3 separate regions of the Homo sapiens genome follow, and all the other regions are linked to region 3. The links are contacts of gene promoters, found by promoter capture Hi-C in blood cells and fetal thymus (Javierre and others, 2016). All regions are on one chromosome and are shown on one strand. The core of a region is centred on a gene start or on the middle of the fragment in contact, and the rest is flanking DNA. Distances in the headings are between cores, read along the strand shown.

Region 1 (2,700 bases), core at 127-2,626, 560 kb after region 3:
GAGATCCCTGCTAAATTGAATGCCTGCCTGGCTGCCTGAGCAACTGACCATGATTACTTCTTTAATTGCAATATTGCCAAGATGCCTCTCAATTCTACCCTGTTGACACCTGTGGCAGTCACTATATTCTCTGAAGTTACTTTATGTTAGTGCTCTCTAAAACTATTGAATCCAGATGGAACTGATGCAAGCTCATTCCTTATTCAAAGGGAAAGTAAGAATTTTCTCAATTATAAAGTCGAGGGGCATGATCTGATAGGAGGAGTAAATTAGTAAAACTGACAACTTACGCTAAAGAGTTAATGTACCTTCAATCAGGACAGTTTTCCTGATTTCCCTTGAAGTGCCACAGTCAGATGGGGTGGCTCTCACTTCCACGTGACCTGCAGTAAGTAGAGTGAGGGACGAGTCAGGAGGTCCTGGGAGGCTGCATAGGCTGGAGGCAAGGGACACCTCCTGCCCCTTTCTCTCCCCAGAGCTGCCCATTGTCCAAAGAGGACATGTCCTGCCTGAAGCTGGGAGTATATCCCCTCTCTAAGACATGAAATTTAAAGAAATGGGCTCATTCCAGTGTTTGGGTCAGTTCTTTCCAGGAAATTTCCTCCTTTTAGCTCTGAAGAAAAAGCTGGTGGAAGGCGACAGACTTATACAGAGAACAGACTTGCCCACTGTCTCTGGTCTTGGCAGGTAGGTGGCTCTCTCACAGTGTGAAGTTACCCTTGATACCCCAAAAGCCAAAGAGATCAGGGAACTCAAGGCAAGGGAGAGCAGAGCTCCAGATGCAAGAAGGACCCACCCATGACTCTTGGGGTTCCTGAGGAAGACAGAGGACTCCATGTAGTGGGGGGGTCTGTGGCACCTTTTTTTTTTTTCATTCTTCAAGGAATCCCAGGCTTTCTAGAAGTCTTCTCTACATCCCTTTATGTGGTAGCCAGAACTCTGATGTTTCTGCTTAGTAATTTTCCAACCACTGACCACTAAATGCAGAGGCAGGGGCTTGTCGATGATAAGAGAGACCTAGATGGAAGATTGAAGGTGGCAGAAGGAAGGAGGGACAGAAGTAAATGGAAGAAAAAGTCTTAGAGGAGCCAGACTGGGTAGGTCTTAAGCTTCCCAAAAAGGCCAATGAAGTTTTACTCTTTTTTTTTTTTTTTTTTTTAACCGGTAAAAATCCTGCCTACAAGAAAGGAAGCAAACAGAGGAATCAAGTTTATAATAAAAAAAGTTTAAGTTTACTGAAAAAAATTCCCATGGGATAAACAAGAACCTAAGGAGAAAATCAGAAAGACTCTTAAAAAAATGGTAGCCTGGATATCAGCTTTAAATTAAGCTATTATTTGACCACAGAGCTCTTTTAAAAAAATACTTTTAAATCCCTTATCAGATTTCAGCAAGAAAAAACAACCAATATTTCTAATGTTTGAAACTTTCTTTTTTTTCTCTTCTTTTAAAACAACGATACCTACCAAGCGACTCAGAACCAAAACCAAGTCTTTTGTGACTTAACCAAGGATACATGAGACATCATTAAAGAAATGTAAAGATGCAGCCCTCTCAAAATTCAGAGCTACCCCCACAAATAGCCAAAAGAAAGAAAGATTTAGATGCCTTGAGAGCTGGCAATAGGCAATATGTAAGCTTTTAATGGGAGCCTCCAACATTTGTTTAGCCCCCTTCACACACCAAAGTGTGTCCTGACAGGCAGCAAGCCAAGTTGGGTTCTCAGGACACAAAACAGGAAAATGACAGCTGTTCGTTGAAGGGAAAGGATCAATAACAAATGAGTCCCTGAAATCCAAATTTACATAAGAGAACAGTTCAAACAAATGATCTCCTGCTGACCTGCATTTGGAAAGTAAGATATAAAGATAAATTTTTACCTTTAGTTCTTGACCAGAAACTACAGGCAGAGATTCAGAACTCACCTTGGTAAAAATTCTTACCTTTATTTGCCAGCTCTTTATCAGTTGTCCCAGGACCTCATCAATAGGTGAGTCAGGTGCTTCAGACATCCCATCTTCATCATCAGAACTATAAGGGCAGAAATAGTGTGATCTCTTTCCTTCCTATCAAAAGGGTCACAGCTGACACGGCTATAATAAGGCAGGTTAACAAGCGAGAAGCATAGCACGTTTATTTAATCATCGTTTTATATAACTATGGAAGCCTTCAAAATGAAGACCCAAAGTACAGGAAAAAACTATCCATTTTTATGCTTACATTCCATGAGGAATGGGCAGCTGTGCAGAAATGTGATTAGACAAAAAGGGCATCATCTAATGCTAATATTCTGAGTAGGGGAAACCCAGCAAGGCCTTTCTGGTCAGATACTTCTTGGCCTCTCCATGCACCATTCCTTCCTCTTGGGTATGTGGCAGAGCTCTTTTTGGAATGGGGGTCTTAGTATCTACAATCAAACAAGGCAGGTCAGAGAATTTCTTTATGGCCAGTTCAGTTCTTACACACAAAGGTAAGGGAAAGTTCAAGTAATGTTTATAGGTTTTTATGGCTGGCTTTGGAGAGAAAGGGCTCTGGTTTCTATTACCAGCCTTGGGAAAGAGAGTTTCTACTTTTTATGGCTAGCCTCGGGAGATGAGGGGTGACAAACAGGAGGGCAGGAGAAGGCCAGAGAGAAACTTTGCTTCTGAGGCTGCTTCTTAGATCTTCACTTTGGCGTATTATTTTCCGAGCTTCAATAGG
Region 2 (2,700 bases), core at 145-2,644, 540 kb after region 3:
TTCCTTAAATAGGACAAAAGTGAAGTAACCATCAAATAAAATTTGATAACTTAGTCTTCATTAAGATTAATAACTTTAAGTGAATAAAAAGATCAGCTTCAATCTGAAAGATGTTATTTACAATACATTTACCCAACAAAGTAGTTGTATCTAGGATATATATAAAAATAACTAAAATAAAAAGAGAAATCAATATCAATAAGAAAAGGAGAAAGTGCTTACCAAAAAGAAAGATTGGAACAGGAATTTCACAAAAGAGACTATCCAAATGGCTCATAAAACTTGAAAAAAACAACACACTCAACATACATGAACAGTATGGATGATTTCACAGACATAACATTGAGTGAAAAAGCTAAATATAAAGAAAAACTAAAATGTGTTTTCATTTATAGAAAGTTCAGAAACTTCAAAAACCAATTTATGGTAATAGGAGGATACAAGAGTGGCTAGATTTATGATGTGATGTTCATTAAGAGGGAACAAAAGGAGCCTTATTTTTACCCTACATGACCAAATTGTCTTCATGTTATAACTTTAATTCCTCTTGCTTGTTTCATAATGTTTTACATTGTTATTATTTCACCACAATATTAAATATTTCAGGGGAAAGTAGACATTGCTGCCTTTTACCTAATTTTTTAGAAGAATATTTTTGTTTATAATTTCACTTGTTTAAAAAGAAACATGCCTGATCTCATTTGCACATATCTGTTTCTCATTAATTTGAAGTCTTAGAAATTATGACTGAATATAATTTCTTTGCAAATATCTCATCAAAATATTTGAGATGATAGTTTATTTTTCTTATTCAATATTGATGAACAGATTGTTTTAAATTGTTCCCAGTAGTTGGATCAAAAATCTATGTTACTGATCACCTTATCAATTGGAAAAACTAGTGTGGAAATAATTTTTAAAAATGTCTTCTATGGGTCTTTCAGTTTAAGTGGTAAATATATTTATGGGAATCTAGAATAAATAAATAACACAGAATAAAGTTTTAAAAGGTAAGCATAAAATCAGTGATATTAGCCTAATACTAGTTCTAGATTGTTATTTATTATCTAATCTGACCCCATTAGACCTTCCAATATAATTGTTTTTTAAGGGATATTTGGAAGCTTTTCCATCCTTATTTTTTATAACTTAGCTTTGTTCTCTGGTGTCTCTTTGATGAGCAAGGCATTTAAGCAGTTGAGTGTTGGTTAAAAAAAAAAGTCTTGGCTGGGTTCATTAATGATGAACATAACATGGCCTTATGTTAATTAACCAAATGTACTTACTAAGACACATGAATATCTAGAGTTATTTTGTTTCCTTACTGTTGATACACCTCATGTGCAAACACATTCCAGTGATGAATGCTAAATGTTATTCTGCCCTCTACTGGTTCAAACTGGACTCTCCCATTTAGATGCATTCCAGGAAAACAGCTTCAAGGTAGAATCTTTTTTTTTCTTTTTTTTTTTTTTAAGACAGGATCTTGCTGTGTTGCCCAGGCTGGAGTGGAGTGGCACAATCACAGCTCACTGCAGCCTCAGCCTCCCCAGGCTCAGATGATCTTCCCATCTTAGCCTCTCAAGTAGCTGGGACTACAGGTGTACACCATGCCTTTTCTATTTTTTGTAGAGAAGGAATTTGGCCATGTTGCCCAAGCTTATCTCAAACTCCTAGGCTCAAGGGATCCTCCTGCCTTGGCCTCCCAAAGTACTGGGATTACAGGCATGAGCCACCACACCCAGCTAAAGGTAGAATCTTAATGAACATTTCCCTTTATAAGCAAAACAAGTAAAACACCAGGAGAACAGAGCATGTGACCCCACCCACCCTGGCCACTGGCACTCAGGCTGTCAACAGCTGCCAGAGCTTCTGACCCAGTGTTCCTAATTCTGTGGGAACTTAAACAGTGGGTGCAGCCTCCTGTTTTCCCAGGAAGCATCTAGACAGCAGGGCAGGCATTCCCATCCACCCTTGCCACTGGTAGCCCAGATAAGCCATGTCCACTAGAACTTCTAGATTGGTGGTCCTATTTCTGCCTGAATTTGCAAAGCGGCACAGGTTCCTGTTGCCCCGGAAACACCTGCATGACAGGGAGGGTAGCCCCACCAACCCCCACCTCTCATAGCCAGATGGCCCACACCTGCTAGAACTTCCAACCCAGCGGTCCCACTTCCACCTGAACTCTGTGGACAGGTGTAACCCTGTGTTTCCCCAGAAAGCACACAGACAGCAGATTAGGGCTGACCTGGCATGGATACAGCATATCTGCCAATGGTGGCCCTGCCTAAGGGAGTCCTGCGGATCAAAACACCCAAAAAAAGAAGCACAGGCATGTAGGCAGTAATCGGGGGGGCTCCTCCAAGACCCAGGAGCAGACTAATATTGAAGCCTGTCAACTAAACCCAACTTATACCATAATCAAACCCCCAAGGGCATCAAAGAAAAAAAGAAAATATCCATCAAAAGGACAGAAACTTCAAAGATTGAAGGAACATCAGCCCACACAAATGAGAAAGAACCAGCACAAGAAAGAACCAGCAAAAAAGCCAGAGTTCCTTTTTTTCTTTCAAACAACTGCACTAGTTCCAAGCTGAGGAAAGAATCTCAGAGCTCAAAGACTGCCTCTCCTAAATAACTCAGTCAGACAAAAATAAAGAAAAATGAATAAAAAAGAACAAACAAAACCTCCAAGAAATA
Region 3 (2,700 bases), core at 15-2,514:
AATTCTACAGGGATTTGGGGGATGAGGAGTCAGAGCTAAGGTATCCTAAAAAAAACATGTGAAGACTCTCATTTTGCAATACACAAGCAATTGCCCTCCTGTTAAGACTTTGTCTTCCTCAGCACTCCGAACCAAAATGATTCTGTAAACAAAAATTGTTCACTTTTAGGAGAGGTCCACTTATGCAGTTCCTCACCAAAGTTTTTAGGCAACAAATCCATAACTTGCGGTTCTCTTCCTATCCAATGTAGCATCCGCTGAAATGTTTTAAATATTTTAAGTAATAAATGTTGATTCAAACTCACCTAGGAAGATTAGGAAGGGGAAAAAAAGCACTTGGCATTTAAATCTTCAGAAGAGAATTTAATGACAGGTTCAGCCTGTTTAATGACAAGCCCAGCACCACACCCCTCTCTTATGATGTTTCATTATTACTGCATAAATTTCCTTTATTACTCATGATAAATAAAAATAAGATACCTGACAAAGTGGGTTTAAATAGGTAAGAGTGCAAACAAAGATTTACTGTACAAATATGATGAAACTGGGATCTCAGATTCTTAAAGTATAATTTTTTTTTGTCTTATGTGTGCCAGGTTGCCACTCTCAATCTCGAACTAGTTTTTTTCTCTTTTAAGGGTTGTATCCATAATGCAAAAATGGAAAGAATTAAAAAGCACACGCAAAACATGATTCTCGGGATTTTTCTCTATTTTTATGGTTGACTAATTCAAACAGAAAGACACATCCAAGAGAAAATTGCTAAGTTTGATACAAGTTATGAAACTTGTGAAGCCCAAGTACTGCCTGGGGATGAATTTAACTTGTATGACAGGTGCAGAGCTGTCGCTTTCAGACATCTTAAGAAACACGGAGTTATTTTGAATGACTTTCTCTCGGTCACAAGGGAGCCACCAACGTCTCCACAGTGAAACCAACTGGCTGGCTGAAGGAACAGAAATCCTCTGCTCCGCCTACTGGGGATTAGGAGCTGAGGGCAGTGGTGAACATTCCCAAAATATTAGCCTTGGCTTTACTGGACATCCAGCGAGCAGTGCAGCCAGCATTCCTGGCGGCTCCCTGGCCCAGTCTCTGGCGCATGCGTCCTAGCATCTTTGGGCAGGCTTCCCCGCCCTCGTGACGCGTCGGCCCGGGCCTGGCCTCCCGGCGATCACAGCGGACAGGGGGCGGAGCCTAAGGGGGTGGGGAGACGCCGGCCCCTTGGCCCAGCTGAAAACGGAATTCTTTGCCGGCTGGCTCCCCACTCTGCCAGAGCGAGGCGGGGCAGTGAGGACTCCGCGACGCGTCCGCACCCTGCGGCCAGAGCGGCTTTGAGCTCGGCTGCGTCCGCGCTAGGCGCTTTTTCCCAGAAGCAATCCAGGCGCGCCCGCTGGTTCTTGAGCGCCAGGAAAAGCCCGGAGCTAACGACCGGCCGCTCGGCCACTGCACGGGGCCCCAAGCCGCAGAAGGACGACGGGAGGGTAATGAAGCTGAGCCCAGGTCTCCTAGGAAGGAGAGAGTGCGCCGGAGCAGCGTGGGAAAGAAGGGAAGAGTGTCGTTAAGTTTACGGCCAACGGTGGATTATCCGGGCCGCTGCGCGTCTGGGGGCTGCGGAATGCGCGAGGAGAACAAGGGCATGCCCAGTGGGGGCGGCAGCGATGAGGGTCTGGCCAGCGCCGCGGCGCGGGGACTAGTGGAGAAGGTGCGACAGCTCCTGGAAGCCGGCGCGGATCCCAACGGAGTCAACCGTTTCGGGAGGCGCGCGATCCAGGTAGCTGGGGCCCCAGGGCCTCGCCGGCAGGGGGCGCGCGAACGCGGGGCGCGGCCTCGGCGGATCGGGGCTGGAACCTAGATCGCCGATGTAGATTTGTACAGGAGTCTCCGTTGGCCGGAGGTGTGCATTCCACGCGTAAAACAGGCTTTTACCCAGCAAAAATCCTAAAGAGAGACATTGAAAAACCCACTGTTTAAGCTTTTTTTAGTGGTTTTTGTTCTGCCATCTCATGATCAGAGATGCAAGGAATAGACTGAATTGGGGAGAAAAGGAGAAAAGGAAAGCTTATTTAGGGAAGAAGATTATCTTGTCTGTCTGCTTTCAACGATAAAGATAAGTAAAGTATAAGTTACGCATTCTAGATTGGATTTAAGGAATTCTACAAAATCATAGTACATGGAAAAAATCAATGTAAACTTCTAAGCTACTATATGAAATCTGTTGTATTGTTTTCTCATAGAGGTTAATTGAGAATGAGACGGGATTCCTCAACCACAGTACTTAGTTCCTTTTATGTTAGCAGTGTCTTATGAGTGATGCATAAGAGAAAAAATATATAGTTCTATAGGTTTCTCATTCTTTAATTATCATACTCAGTGCCCAGATTACAAAAATATTCCTGCAGCAACTGTTAGGTCCTTTTTGAATGGCAAAGGATCTTCATAAATAATGCATCTTTATCTTCATTGTTAAAATACACTTATTCAATGTTTAAGTACGAATCCTGCTTTAATTAGTACTGATATTTTTTATTTCTTTTACAATCTCGGACAACTCTTTTGTACTTTACCGTTGGCTAGTGGTCATATTCAGTACTCACCTCACTATCACCCTCTAAAACTAAGCTAATATTAAGGGATCTTGTTAATAGTATAGATTTTAAAGAAGTGTTCATTTCTTTTGAATTCTTAGAATAATGGTATAAC

What was found. Contacts are between HindIII fragments. The CHiCAGO score rates a contact against its expected background, and 5 or more counts as called.
Region 1: a fragment that was not itself captured here is called in contact with the fragment with the promoter of CDKN2B in region 3 in 2 of 17 cell types (naive CD4 T cells and activated CD4 T cells); the score reaches 7.1 in naive CD4 T cells.
Region 2: a fragment that was not itself captured here is called in contact with the fragment with the promoter of CDKN2B in region 3 in 2 of 17 cell types (naive CD8 T cells and naive CD4 T cells); the score reaches 6.7 in naive CD8 T cells.

Annotation. Positions count from the first base shown.
Region 1 is chr9:21,446,127-21,448,826 of GRCh38, reverse strand. No RefSeq gene overlaps it. Among named protein-coding and RNA genes, the nearest start is that of IFNA1, 7.0 kb to the right of the region's middle. The HindIII fragment of the contact is 529 bases long and covers 1,112-1,640 here.
Region 2 is chr9:21,464,802-21,467,501 of GRCh38, reverse strand. All of the region lies in intron 2 of MIR31HG (MIR31 host gene), which reads left to right. Among named protein-coding and RNA genes, the nearest start is that of IFNE, 16 kb to the left of the region's middle. RefSeq lists a silencer at 1,310-1,389. The HindIII fragment of the contact is 535 bases long and covers 1,127-1,661 here.
Region 3 is chr9:22,007,869-22,010,568 of GRCh38, reverse strand. It overlaps CDKN2B (cyclin dependent kinase inhibitor 2B), which reads left to right and starts at 1,264. Exons shown (of 2, transcript NM_004936.4): 1 at 1,264-1,771. The coding sequence starts at 1,616. All of the region lies in intron 1 of CDKN2B-AS1 (CDKN2B and CDKN2A antisense cis and trans regulatory RNA 1), which reads right to left. RefSeq lists a silencer at 1,723-1,922. The HindIII fragment of the contact is 2,577 bases long and covers 1-1,974 here.